Linked DNA regions of Homo sapiens: region 1 is linked to region 2. Evidence: promoter capture Hi-C in 16 types of primary human blood cells and fetal thymus (Javierre and others, 2016). All regions are on one chromosome and are shown on one strand. Each heading gives the region's core, a stretch centred on a gene start or on the middle of the fragment in contact. The rest is flanking DNA. Distances are from core to core; before and after follow the strand shown.

Region 1 (6,727 bases), core at 1,516-4,015, 660 kb before region 2:
AGACATCCATTTTCAATCCCACAGTCTCCATCTTTTTATTGCAGTGGTCTCTAGTCCATCAGACTTTGAGGAAGGGGCTAAGCTGAAATCAATCCAGGAAGAAGTCAAAAGCTGTCCTGTCCTCCTTAGTGAGTGTGTCCTGGGATGAGCTGTCCCCTGAGCCTATGCAGAGCCCCCTTCACCTCTTGGTTCTTGAGGCTGTGGATGATGGAGTTGACCATGGGAGTGAACACTGTGTAGAGGACAGAGAAGACCTTTAGAAGCAAGGGGACATGTGTTCTATTGGGGCCACATAGACCACAATGAGGGTGCCATAAAATACCCCAACTACGGTGAGGTGGGAGGAACAGGTGAAGAAGGCTTTCTGCCTCTCATGGCCTGAGGGTATTTGCAGTACAGCCCTCAATGAAGGCAGAGGATGCCACAATCAGTAGGAAGGCGGCCAGTGTCAGGAAGCCTGAGATGCTGACTTCAGCTCCCTACATGACTCCCACATCCCCGCAGAACTGCCTGACTACTGGAGCAAACTCACAGAAATAGTGGTCAATCTCCCTGCTGCCAGGACAGAGGTGCTGCCAGGGCCATAGTGAAGGCAGAGGAGAAGAAGCCACTGAACCAAGCACCAGCGGCCAGGCAGTGACAAAACCAGGTGCTCATCAGGGCAGGATAGTGAAGGGGGCAGCAGATGGCCAAGTAACAGTCATAGGACACGGCAGATAGCAGGAGGCACTCAGCTGCAGCCAGCGAGGAAAACACGTAGAACTGAGCCAGACAGCTGACTAGAGAGATGACTTCCTTCCCCTCCAAGAAACTCTGCAACAGCCATAGTATGACGTTGGAGGTATAGCCAATCTCCAGCAGGGAGAAGTGGCAGAGGAAGAAGTACATTGGTGGGTGCAGTGTCCGACTAGAGGCCACAGCCAGCATGATGAGGGCATTGCCCCCAACTGTCACCACATAGATGGCCAGGAAGAGAGTGAAGGGAAGGAAGCCCAGGTATTGCAGCTCCCCGAAGCCCACTAGGATCAGCCAGGTGGTCTGGTTCCCACTGTCACCACTGGACTGCTTCTTCTTCCAGGTCTGGGCCCAAGAGAAGAGAGGAAGGTAGTTAATATTAACAAAGATACTATTATGGCCACACTCCATGCTTGGCTTATCCATTTACTCATCACAGCACGCATCAGAGACAGGCCTTATTGTCTCCCAGATGTGGAAGAGAAACTAAGACCCGTTTGTTCAAGTCAATTATTCCAGGTCATTATGATGGAGTCATGATGTGAACCCAGGTTTGCCTGACTCTAAGGCTCCCGAATGGTCTACTGTTCTACAGTGCTTTCCCAACCTGCTCCACCCACATTTTTTTTTTTTTTTTGAGATAGGGTCTCACCCAGGCAGGAGTGTAGTGGTGCGATCACAGCTCACTACAGCCTCGACTTCCTGGGCTCAAGCCATCCTCCCACCTCAGCCTCCCAAGTAGCTGGGACTACAAGCACATGCCACCATGCCTGGCTACTTAAAAAAAAATTTAACAGAAATGAAGTCTCCCTATATCGTCCAGGCTGGTCTCAAATTTCTGCGCTCAAGCGATCCTCCCAAAGTTCTGGGATTATAGGCGTGAGCCACTGCATCTGGCCCCAAACGTTTTTTAAGTGATAGAAATGTCAAAATTAGAGAGCAGCATAATGTTCTTCCAATCCGCAGGGAGCTATTTACCTGGAGGTCCCGGCTGGGCACCAACAGGAGGACCACAGCTGGTGAACTGTGGAAGGGTAGGAGGCGTGCGCATCGCCTCTAGGAGAGTTGGTCCTACTCTGAAGTCATGCACGTTCCTGAGGCTGCCACTCATCTCAGACTATTTTTTCTTTCCAAGAAAATGAGACTTGGAAATCCAGATGAGCAATCTATATCATCTATTCAGCAAGATATGCAACACAGAAAGATCTGAATTAACCCAGATCCCACCCCCCTGGGAAACCACTCTTTCTCTTTGGACAGGTGGCCTGGTGACCCTTGGTAAAGCCATTTCCACACTTTGCCCAGTCTCCGATCAGTTTGTTGGAAACTGGAAACACTCTATTTATCTTGGTTCTCCTGCCTTGTATTTTCCATACAGGTCAAATGCTCAGTTTATCTTAACTAACTGTGGGTTCTTTAGAAACTTCTCTTCTGGCGTAGGTTTCCTTCTCTCAGTTATTGCAGCACTACCTTTCCACCAAACACATAGGAAGACTTTGTGGAATGAATAAATAAATTAATATATGAATTCATTACAATAATTTTCCAAAAGCAAATTGCCATGAAAAAATTGCACCATCTGACAGTTAACGCTAGAGTCAAAGAGACATTTAAATGACTACTAAAATAGAGGAGGAATCATTGGGTCATCCCCTACAGTTGAGGGAATATTGGAAGCTTGGGATGGAATCATAAATAAGAATGGATATGGAAGTCAAAAATATGTGTGTGCGTAGGAGGAAGAAACCAGAAAGCCCAATGTGATAGTTTTCTCACTTTTGAAGTTAAGAAAGGCGACATCTCACATTAGCCGATGGCAGTGAGAACACAGGGTTTTTCTGTTCCTGGCCTGATCCTACGTTTTCCTTTGGCTTTGGGCTTACATCATGCAGACCCACATTCAGTCATATGGGGATACAGACATGGAACAAACTGAATGCTTTCATATGTATTTGAACATATTCTGTCTTCTATATACTAATGATTTCTTAAAGAGCCAAGGAGTGACTTGAATTGAGAGTGAAATAGGACTCTGGGTTTAGCAGAAAGAGGGAGCAAAGGAAGAAACTAGTTAAACTAACCAAATCAACCAACCAGTCAACTGACCCGAAACTTCTGAAGTCTACACTCTGAGCCAATGCTTATGATTATAAAGTTAGAAGCACTGCCCTTGCCAACCAATGAATTTGACCTTGGTTCCTGGTAAAATTCCTAAATAGATGCTATGTAGAATAGTTGGAAGTCCCATAAGGGATCACCAGGATCTTTGTAATGCTGAACCTAATGTAAAACCTCATAATAATATCTTTTATTGACAGTACTAATAATTTAACAATCAGGAGAAAGGAGCAGAGAAAGGGCATGTTAATCTCAGTAAAGCTTCATAAAAAGATGATGACTGTGTGCTTAGAGATAACGCTTTTTTAGCCTGGTGCAGTGGCTCACGCCTGTAATCCCACCACTTTGGGAGGCCGAGGCAGGCGGATCACGAGGTCAGGAGTTCAAGACCAGTCTGACCAACATAGTGAAACCCTGTCTCTACTAAAAATACACAAAAAATTAACCAGGTGTGGTGGTGTGCGCCTGTAATCCCAGCTACTCAGGAGGCTGAGGCAGGAGAATGGCGTGAACCTGGGAGGCGGAGGTTGCAGTGAGCCAAGATCGTGCCAATGCACTCCAGCCTGGGCGACAGAACGAGACTCTGTCTCAAAAAAGAAAAAAAGAAAAAAGATAACGCTTTTAGTTTGGCTACCATACACCAAAATTATTCATTAATGACTAAAAATCTGGAGAAATCTGTCTAGTGAAAAGGAGAATGTGTTGTAGATCTTATCTTCGTCACCTATTTTAGCAATGACTTCAATAGGCATAGTAAGCATGCATGGCTCATCAAACTTCAGATGATATGAAACAAAGAGGGAAAATCAATATTGTAAGCAACAATTATAATTCAAAATAATCTTGCCTTTTGGAATGCCAAACTAAAAACAAGACGGAATTTAACAGAGGCACATATAAAATCTGCATGTAGATTTTAACAACCGGTTACACAAGCATAGGAAGGGTAAGACCCAACTTAGTAGCCAATTATGTGAAAATAATTTGGGCTTTTTGTTGACTATCATGAATTTTTTCTTTTTTTTTTTTTTTGAGATGGATTCTGGCTCTGTCGCCCAGGCTAGAGTGCAGGGTTATGATTTCAGCTCACTGCAACCTCCACCTCCCAGGCTCAACTGATTCTCCTGCCTCAGCCTCCCAAGCAGCTGGAACTGCAGGTGCCCAACACCGAGCCCGGCTACTTTTTTGTATTTTCAGTAGAGACGGGGTTTCACCGTGTTAGCCAGGATGGTCTCCATCTCCTGACCTCGTGATCTGCCCGCCTCGGCCTTCCAGAGTGCTGGGATTACAGGCGTGAGCCACCGCACCCGGCCTGAGTATCATGAATTAGGGCTTGAAAACTGTGAAATACAAGGAATAGATGAAGAATGTAGAGAATCTGGAAAAGACAAAATGAATAGAAGAATATGATAACTGTTTTCAAATATTTGAGAGACTCTTATAAAGAAGAGGAATTACATTTAATTCACAGAACAAGGACCAAGGGTGTGGTGGTGCTGGAAAACCCATGATTACTCATCTGTGCTGGCTTCCTAGAGGTGATTCTTAAGGGGTTAACCATTGTTATTTACTGCATTTTTTGGGGGGTTTGAAAATAAGATGAGGCTCGGGGGACAGGGTCAGTGTGGTGAAGTGGAATTTCTTCCTAGAGCCTCCAGAAGTTTGTTGGCAAATATGGGCCTCATCCACAGGAACCTCCCAGAGCAAACAAACAAACAAAAATGATAAACTCTCTTCTGCATGTTTAGGTTGGGTCAGTGGTGGTCCTCTCTGTAGGCAGAGAGCAGGGTTGACCCATATGAACGCCAGATACTCAAGCTCAGTGAAGATGGGGGCGGACCTGCTTTGGGCTTGGAGTCAACTTCTCTCCTGGACGTCTTTACCCCTAGACTAAATTCTTCTGCCACCTGACAGCTCTGTGGACTTTCTGCTTCTCTCCTGTGGAGTCTCCACATGTTATTGACTCCCTACACCCTAGGGTGCTCACAGAAGACAGTTGTCCCTATTCCGTATGTGCTGCTATGGATGCAACTGCCTTTTCTAGAGGAGGAGAGCGCCCCTCCCTTGTGCAGGTTGGAGAAGAGCCTCCTTGGAGAGGAGATGTAGTTTGGAGCCAACTGGAGCAGCTGCATCTATCTTTTGGTTCCAGGGAAATGTTCAGGTCTACAAGGGACCACATCCATGTGTTTCATTCAAACCTAATTACCTCCCCCTTATGAGTGGGGAAAGACTGGCAAGACATAAGAATAACCATAATAGCCAAATGCTGTGGCTCATGCCTATAACCCCAGCACTTTGGGAGGCTGAAGAGGGAGGATCACTTGAGCCAAAAAGTTCAAGACCAGCCTGGGAAACATAGTAAGACCCCATCTCTACAAAAAAAAAAAAAAAAAAAAAAAATCAGCCAGTCATGGTGGCATATGCCTGTAGTCCCAGCTACTCTGGAGCCTGTGGTGGGAGCTTCGCTTGAGCCCAGGAGGTTGAGGATGCAGTGAGCCATAATTGCACCACTGCACTCCAGCCTGGGTGACCAAAAAGAAAATAGCCACAATGAAAGCCAGCGTTTATGGAATACTTTATAATTCATAAAGCAAATATTAACTGATTAGCTAATTTAATAAATATTCAATTCTCAGAATGAGCCCCAAGGTGAAATGTATGTTATAACTTGTTCTTGCAGCATTGGGATGAGCTATCAAGAGTGTTGAGAGGTGAAGCCAGCTGGATTTCTGGGTCGAGTCGGGACTTGGAGAACTTTTCTAACAAGAGGATTGTAAAATGCACCAATCAGCGCTCTGTAGCTAGGATTGTAAAACGCACCAATCAGCACTCTGTGGCTAGCTAGAGGTTTGTAAAATGTGCCAGTCAGCACTCTGTAAAAACGCACCAATCAGCGCTCTGTGTCTAGCTAAAGGATTGTAAATGCACCAATCAGCACTCTGTGTCTAGCTAAAGGATTGTAAATGCACCAATCAGCACTCTGTGAAATGGACCAATCAGCACTCTGTAAAATGGACCAGTCAGCAGGACATGGGAGAGGCCAAATAAGGGAATAAAAGCTGGCCACCCCAGCCAGCACCGGCAACCCACTCAGGTCCCTTTCCACGCTGTGGAAGCTTTGTTCTTTCACTCTTCACAATAAATCTTGCTGCTGCTCACTCTTTGTGTCTGCACCACCTTTAAGAGCTGTAACACTCGCTGCAAAGGTCCGCGGGTTCATTCTTGAAGTCAGCGAGACCACAGACCCACCAGAAGGAAGAAACTCCAGACACATCTGAAGGAACAAACTCTGGACACACCATCTTTAAGAGCTGTAACACTCACTGTGAAGGTCTGCGGCTTCATTCTTGAAGTCAGCAAGACCAAAAGCCTGCTGGAAGGAACCAACTCTGGACACAGTGTGACCTCTAAGGGCTAAATCAACAGTCTTTCTACCCTGGCCTGGGTTAGGACCCTGGGGTCCCGCTTTGATCTCTTAGCAGGGAGGAGGCAAGAAGAAACTGATATATAACTCTGTAGGTATTCTGTCCTGTTTAGTTGGATAGTTTAACATCACAGATTAACATAAAACCAGGTCAGATCCCTTCAAGATAATGGAGACAGACTAAAATGCAGCTGAATGACAAATGTAAATAGGAAATCCCACTGCAGTACTATAGCACCGAGTTTCTTCCATAGCAAGCAGAGAGCAGATCTGGGCCAGGAGGAGGACAGCACAGGCTCTGGGCTGGGGCTGAGATTTTCTAGGAACAGACTGGCATGGCTCTTCCTGGAAAAAACTGGACAAGTGTGTGACATTGGCAGAAGAGAGGCAGAGTAGAGAGTCTTAGGTGTAGAAAAGGTGACTCAGTCTCAAACAAAGTCTCCATAAAGC
Region 2 (7,211 bases), core at 1,878-4,377:
AAAACGGTCCTCCCATCTCGGCCTTCCCGGTAAAATTCACCTGAAAATAAGATACCAGAGTTGGTCTGTGGCCAAGCAGGCTTGACACAGAACAGTATTATTATTAGCAATCCAAAGACCTTGGGTCATTCTTCCATCACATGCAAAATACTTCCCTGAGATTGTCCCTAATATAGTCTATGAGCCTCTAATTGATACTGCCAACCTCTTCCCTTTTGAGAGGCCAATGGACCTCAGGCTGTAACACTGCTGCTTCTTATTTTGTAGCAAATCTTTGTCTCTTACAAATTATTCTGCTCCCCAAATGCTTAAATGATAGCTGTTTTTTCTCACAATTATTTATAATTACAGGGCCCAACAGGTCTTCCTCATCACCAGTTCCTACAAGTAGAAATGAGGAGACAAAAAGGAAAGTGACACAGCTATGGCATTCCTACAGCCCCCTACTCTTCTCTTAGGCCTGTGGGGCAAGATTCCTAAAAGAACAGCATACCAGTTGCTCACTCCGAGGTGGAATAAGGGAGACGTTAGTAGTCACATATGTACTGACCACTGTGTTCATGTACTGAATCTGGCTGGACAGGCTGGTCACTGCCACCGTGTAGAAGTTGGAGTTCCTGATTTTCAGGGTGGCCTACATCAGGGCAAGTCAGGAAACAAGTGTAAGTGTCCTGGGTCCCAGCCTGGCAGGTGCACAACCCAGGGAATGAAACCCTAAGGCTTACCATGATGGTGAGAATTACAAGGGAGTCTTGCTTATTAAATGTGACTTTCACCACTTTGATGCCGTCATCATCCACAAGGACTGAATGCGGAAACAGGAAGAAAACCACCAAACCAGATGCCAGGAGACAAAGCAGGATGGACAGGAGGACATATTGCTTACTGCAAATGACACAGCACATGACCGACCCAGGCAGTCAGATATCAAGGTTCAATGTGTCAAGATTAAACACAAAACCAGGAAAGAGAAGGGAGCTGAAAGGGAAGTTCCAAGAGCCAGGAACCATAAACCAGTTAAGAAGCAGTGAAGCAGGAGAAACCTTTTAAAACTCCTTTAAACACTGTTTGCACTCTGGGAAGAAAAGCTGAAGAAAGGAGCTATGTGGACAGAGACAGTCCCACACCTCCCAGAACACTCCACTTTCCCAGTTTCTTCTGATTCCATTCCTTGACCTTCAAAGCATTTCCAGCTTCAAGTTTCTTTCCCCAGATTGTGATGGGGGCAGAGATATCTTGCTTGGGCAAACAGTTATAAGGAAAATGGGGAACTTATAAGAACATGTGTAGTTTTCAAAGAATTAACTGGCATTCATACATACAGAAAGAGATTAGGGACAGAAGTAGGTATTAACAGGTGAGAAGCAGGTAACTCACGTTCGCTGAGGGCGCAATCTCTGATCACTGTGTGGGATCAAAGCCACCAACTCATTTACTTGCTCTAGAAAAGAGCCAAACAATTATTTTGTAAATCCCATGTGTTGGCAGTACTTCCTTCACGTCTCACTTGAGCCTGCCACAACAAATATTCTTCTGGAATGAGACATTTTAAAAAATACTAGTGAAATTCACATGTTGGGTCTAATGAACAAGAAACAAGAGAGTGCCACAAATTATAAAACATCTATCAGTGCTGCCAGGGTAGTGATGTGGAAGTTGAAAAACCTGGGATCCTGTTCTGGCTTTACTGCATGGGCTTGGCAGAGTCGTCGAATCTCTCAAGGCCATGGTTTCCTTGCCTTTCATATGGAAGCTTTGGAGTAAATGATTTTGAAGGTCCTAACCAGCTCTAAATTTCTGTGACTCTCCAGCTAAACTGTTAAAGACTTTCTGAGGGCCAATTTGTTAATAGTAATAGATGATCCTGTACCAAGGCTAAGTATTTGTCTCTCTCTCTTGACCTGATATATTTTTCTGACCTTAGGCTGTTAAGGATTAGCTACCCATTTCCTTGAAAAGCAGCTTCCAAGATGGTTCCCCCGCAAAGCTGTCCCAATCCTTGTGACAGCGATAAAGAAATGTGCCTGTCAACAAATCCCACAACACAGAGCGAACTGAATGTTCCAAACCTCAGGAAAAGAACAAGAGTGGCGGTAAAGAAAAGAAAGGGTTGGAAAAATAAGGAGAGGAAGAGAAGTTGCAGAACTGCCCAAGTGTATTAAGTCAGTTGAGCTGGCTCCTGTCCAGGGCACTGTCTCTATTATGGTATTACTGCCTAGAAGAAAAGTTGTCTGGGCAGACAGGAGAACTCCGAGGGTACCTTGGGATTCTCATCAGGGAATCATCCCTCCATGATCACCTGTTGGAATGTAGCCTGTCCCCTGGCACGTGAGACAGGTGATGCTATCTCTCCCGGTGAATTCCACATATGGGAACTGAGCAATGGCTTCTTCCTGCTCTCGTTCAGCCAGCAAACCGTCCCTGTCATCTTCTTGCTTTCGCCTGCAGGAGGAGGGGCGAGCAGCAGCGGAATGCTGAGACCCCATGGCCGTGATATGCCACTGGTGTCATGTCCTAAGATGAAAAGAGGGAGTGCACGTTAGCGGCCCCAGTGAATCACGACAGAAATCGCTTGTTTCTATAAGAAAATTAAAAACGCAAAAATGACAAGTTGCCGCCCTGAGTGTGGTCCCAACACCTGTACGATTTCTATCGGGACCCTCATTTTGTAGTAGTGCTACCCACTCTCCTCTTACCCGCCACACACAGCCGGCGGGGGTGGGGAGGGGGAACGGGGCCTGCCTTTCACGCACCTGCCTCGATCCTCACCGCCCTGGGACTTGGGGCACCCCCGCTCCCACCTGGTCCAGCCTCGCCCCTTCCTCTTCACTATTTGTAAGCTCTATGCCCCTCCTCGAGCAACAAACAGGCACCAAATTGATAACCGGCCTTAACGATTCCCATTCCTCTCCACCCCCCAGCCCCAGGAGGCGGGCTCAGGTCACGCCCCTTGGCAAAAAGCGATGCTCTGAGCCCACCAAAGTGGCCCAGGCAGGAGCGAACGCCAGCGTCGCAGACCTGCAGGGCACGAACTCCCGGCAGCTCCTCTCCGGCCGCTCCCCCGACCACCTGCCAGCTTGAGGACTTACCAGCCTCTTCGGTCGGCGGAGCGGCACGCACTCAGCGCGCAGGCGCCAAATACCAAGCCCGCCAGGAGAACGCGGGCGCGCGCTCGCGCGTGCGCTCTTCGCGGCTCCGGAGGCCTTCCCAATATCGCAGCTGTCTGGCTCCCTCGGTTCCGGTAGAGGGCGGCAGAGAGCGCCGGGGAGCCGCGACCCTTGCTGTTGGGCCGCGGTAGTCCGCGGAGTCGGGATGATGCTCTGCTGTTCGCTAGATAGGCTGGGAAAGGCTCCAGTCAAGTTTCCAGAGCAAAACACTTCTCTGCTGCGAGAGGAGGAAGGTGCTGCCGGCTACCGAAGCCATTCTGAAATATTCTTTATAGTACAGGAGCTGTGTAGTCGCTGAGGGTACACACATGCGGAGCATTCGGATAAACTGCCTTTGCAAAAATTGTAAGTGAGAAAATTATGACAGTGAAAGAGATCTGACTTACCCAGTTCCGTCTTGCTTCTAACCTCCGAACTGCCCTTGTTCATTCCTGGGTATAGGCCAAACTAACTTTGGGAGGAATTTAGTTTATAGTTGAACTTCGAAGCAAAGATAACAGCCCTTCCCCAAAACAAACCCCCTTCTTGCCTGGGGACCAGACTGCCTTTGTAAGACTAACAAATTAGCCACAAGATTAGAAATTATGGTTTAGGAGTCATCCAGACAGAGGTCACAAGATTCCAAACCTTCCCTATTGCTCCAAGGGATAACATCACTATTGTAAAATCTAAGATCGGTGCTGGGGATATTTTTCAGACCCTGCATTCTGAGGCACCAGCTGGCAGTACCTAGACCAGTTATCTGGCTCAGCCAGTTCTGCAATCCCACCCAGGAACAGAAAACAGCAAGAAGAACCCACTTAGACCCCCCTATGATTTCATCTCCAACCTGACCAATCAGCACTCCCCACTGCCTGATACCTACCAGCCGAATTATCCTTAAAAAACCCCAGTCTCTGAATTATCGGGGAGACTTATTTGAGTGATAAAACTCTGGTATCTCATTCAGCCGGCTCTGCATGAATTAAAATCTCCATTGCAATTCCCCTGTCTTGATGAATCAGCTCTGGGCAACGGGCAAGGAGAACCCGTCCGGCAATTATATCAGAACCTGTCTTCAGTCCAGGAGGGGAACCCAGAGGCTTCATCAGACCCCTCCAATACTGTAGATAAAAGTGCTGCTGGAAGTCTCACAAGTCAGAGGGGCCCAGCCTGGGGGAAACCTTCCATGGGGAGTCCTGCTGGCTTCTCGCAGGAACGGACCCCACAGCTGAGCTTTGCAAGCCAATTAGGTGCCAAGAGGCACCAAGGAGTAGATTCATTCGGTAGTAGGGCCCCCCCTTCCCCAGACCTCCACAAAAAAGGCACGTACGTAAGAGGTTAGAAAGCACTTTTCGTTCGTTTGTTTGTTTGTTCGTTTGTTTTGAGATGGAGTCTTGCTCTGTCGACCAGGCTGGAGTACAGTGGCACAGTCTCAGCTCACTGCAACCTCCGCCTCCCGGGTTCAAGCGATTCTCCTGCCTCAGCCTCACAAGTAGCTGGGATTACAGGCGCACACCTCCACACCTGGCTAATTTTTGTATTTTTAGTGGAGACCGGGTCTCACCATGTTGACCAGGCTGGCCTCAAACCCCTGACCTCAGGTGATCTGCCCACCTTGGCCTCTCAAAGTGCTGGGATTACAGGCGTGAGCCACTGTGCCCGGCCTAGAGGGTACTTTTTAATGGGTGGGTTTCTTTGTTCATACTGCCAGGTTGAGCTTAGCCTGCAGCAGCAGGAGTTGAGTACAGACATTAACCAGGTGAAATTATTAAAGATGATGCTAGGGGAGAGGAGATATTCTGAAATGGGATGAATAAGGGGCCCACTTGGCAATAGAGAGTGAGGCTGAGGCTGGTGACCCCTCAGGTTTCTGCCACCTCTGTATTTTCCTCTTTCTCCTGTGGGGAATGCCAATGTACCTGCTGTTGTCTAGCCATCTGCCTGACCACTGGCCACAATCAGCCCACTGAGTCTTTAGTAAGAGGCAACAAGGACCCTCTACTTCCCCTCTCACATCTCTGATCCACCTCTTCTCCTTCTTGAAATGTTTTTTTTTTTTTCATCTGTTGGGTCACAGAAAACGATTCCCCAAAATATGGTGTTTGAGCATACGGAGTGCTTTTGAGAATTAAAAGAAAACAAGCCTCAGAATCAAGGTACCTCTAACCTTGTCTTGTTCCTCCGCTCAACCCCAAGCATAGGGGAAGACTCTCTCTGGAATTTCCTTGTCTCACCAAGAAAGCTTTTTTTTTTTTTTTTTGAGACAGGGTTTTGCTCTGTCGTCCAGGATCAAGTACAGTGGTGCCATCACAGCTCACTGAAGCCTCAAATTCTGGGGCTCAAGCAGTCCTCTGTGAAACAAAAATAAAGCTAAGTCTTCTCTACCCCCAGCCATCTGCATGGACCCCTCCTCTCAGCCAAGGGCATTCCAAAGTTAACCTGAAAAACTAGTTCAGGCCATGATGGGAAGGGGGAGTCAGACATGCCTCACTACCGTTGTGAAAGAAAAATAAATTTCAGGACCCCCAAATCATGAAGTCAAGGGAAAAGTCAAGCTGGAGACTATGTCAGGCAATTCTGCCTCCCATTTTATTTCTAAATAAGGTAGCTACAAAGATCAAAATTACATATCCCCCTCACAATTTGCCCACAAGGAATTTCCTTGTGGACAAAGGACAGACATGACTCAAAGTCATCTTTCTGAGGCTCACCTGAGACAAATGTGTATTCGATTGCCTCCTCTGCCCTACGGTGTATGTAAAAATGCAGGTGTACTGAGCCAGACTAAATTGTGTATTCAATGGAAGGCGGATGTAGGACTCAAAAGAATGCAACCTTTTTTCTCTTATCTATTTCTGACCTGAAAGACCCCCACCTCGGCACCCTTCGAGTTGTCCCGCCTTACTGGACCCAACCAATGCACATCTTACACATAATTATTGATGTCTCATGTTTCCCTAAAATGTTTAAAAGCAAGCTGTACCTGACTACCTTGGGCACATGTCGTTAGGACCTCCTGAGGCTGTGTCACAGGAATGTCCTTAACCTTGTCAAAATAAACTCCTAAATTAATTGAGACTTATCTCTGATACTTTTTTGGATGATACCTCCCACGTCAACCTCCCAAGTAGTTGGGACCATAGGTGTGCACCACCACGCCGGGCTAATTTTTAAATTTTTACTGGCGATGGGGTCTCCCCCTGTTGCCCAGGCTAGTCTCAAACTCCTGGGCTCAAGCAGTCCTCCTGCCTCAGCTTCCCAATGTGCTAGGATTACAGGCATGAGCCACTGTGCCTGGCCAAGAAAACTTCTTACCAAGAGTTTGTATCCCATCCCTGAAATATCATGATCTATGGCAGAGAAGAAGACTGAAGAATGCAATCATGCTTGGATGGAATTTTTCACAAGATAATGCCTGCCTTTCCTGCTCATTCAAATTGCAAAGAGAATCATTTACAAGTTAATGTGTCTGCCTTGTCTATTCATTCTCCCTAATCATTTACTGCCCCTCAAAAGAATTGCTTACATTCCCCATCTTCTCTCTCCCCTGTAAAGAAGGGTTGTATCCATTCTCAGACTGCTATAAAGAACTACCTGAGACTGGGTAATTATGAAGAAAAGAGGTTTAATTGAATCACAGTTCCACAGGCTGTACAGGAAGCATGGGTGGGAGGCCTCAGGAAACTTACAATCATGGCAGAAGGTAAATGGAAAGCAAACACATCTTACCATGGCAGAGCAGCAGAGAGTGAAGGGAAAAGTGCCACACACTTTTAAACCATCAGATCTTGTGAGAACTCACTCACTATCACGAGAACAGCCCCCATGATCCAATCACCTCCCATGAGGCCCCTCCTCCAATTCAACATGAGATTTGGGTGGGGGTACAAATCCAAACTGTGTCATTCCACCCCGGCCCTCCCAAGTCTCATGTCTTTCTCACATTGCAAAATACAATTATCCCTTCTCAGCAATCCCCCAAAGTCTTAACTCATCCCAGCATTTACTCAAAAGTCCAAGTCCAAAGTTGTTACAGGAAAGGGGTCCCGATCCAGATCCCAA

Evidence for each region. The method cuts DNA at HindIII sites, captures the fragments that hold promoters and counts their contacts. A CHiCAGO score of 5 or more calls a contact.
Region 1: a fragment that was not itself captured here is called in contact with the fragment with the promoter of TMEM106C in region 2 in 2 of 17 cell types (M0 macrophages and erythroblasts); the score reaches 6.2 in M0 macrophages.

The regions. Positions count from the first base shown.
Region 1 is chr12:48,622,214-48,628,940 of GRCh38, reverse strand. It overlaps the pseudogene OR11M1P. Among named protein-coding and RNA genes, the nearest start is that of SNORA2C, 29 kb to the left of the region's middle. The HindIII fragment of the contact is 702 bases long and covers 2,415-3,116 here.
Region 2 is chr12:47,959,512-47,966,722 of GRCh38, reverse strand. It overlaps TMEM106C (transmembrane protein 106C), which reads right to left and starts at 3,127. Exons shown (of 8, transcript NM_001143842.2): 1 at 3,019-3,127; 2 at 2,300-2,514; 3 at 1,378-1,441; 4 at 726-885; 5 at 494-634; 6 at 1-40. The coding sequence starts at 2,486. RefSeq lists an enhancer at 6,325-6,855. The HindIII fragment of the contact is 3,638 bases long and covers 1,756-5,393 here.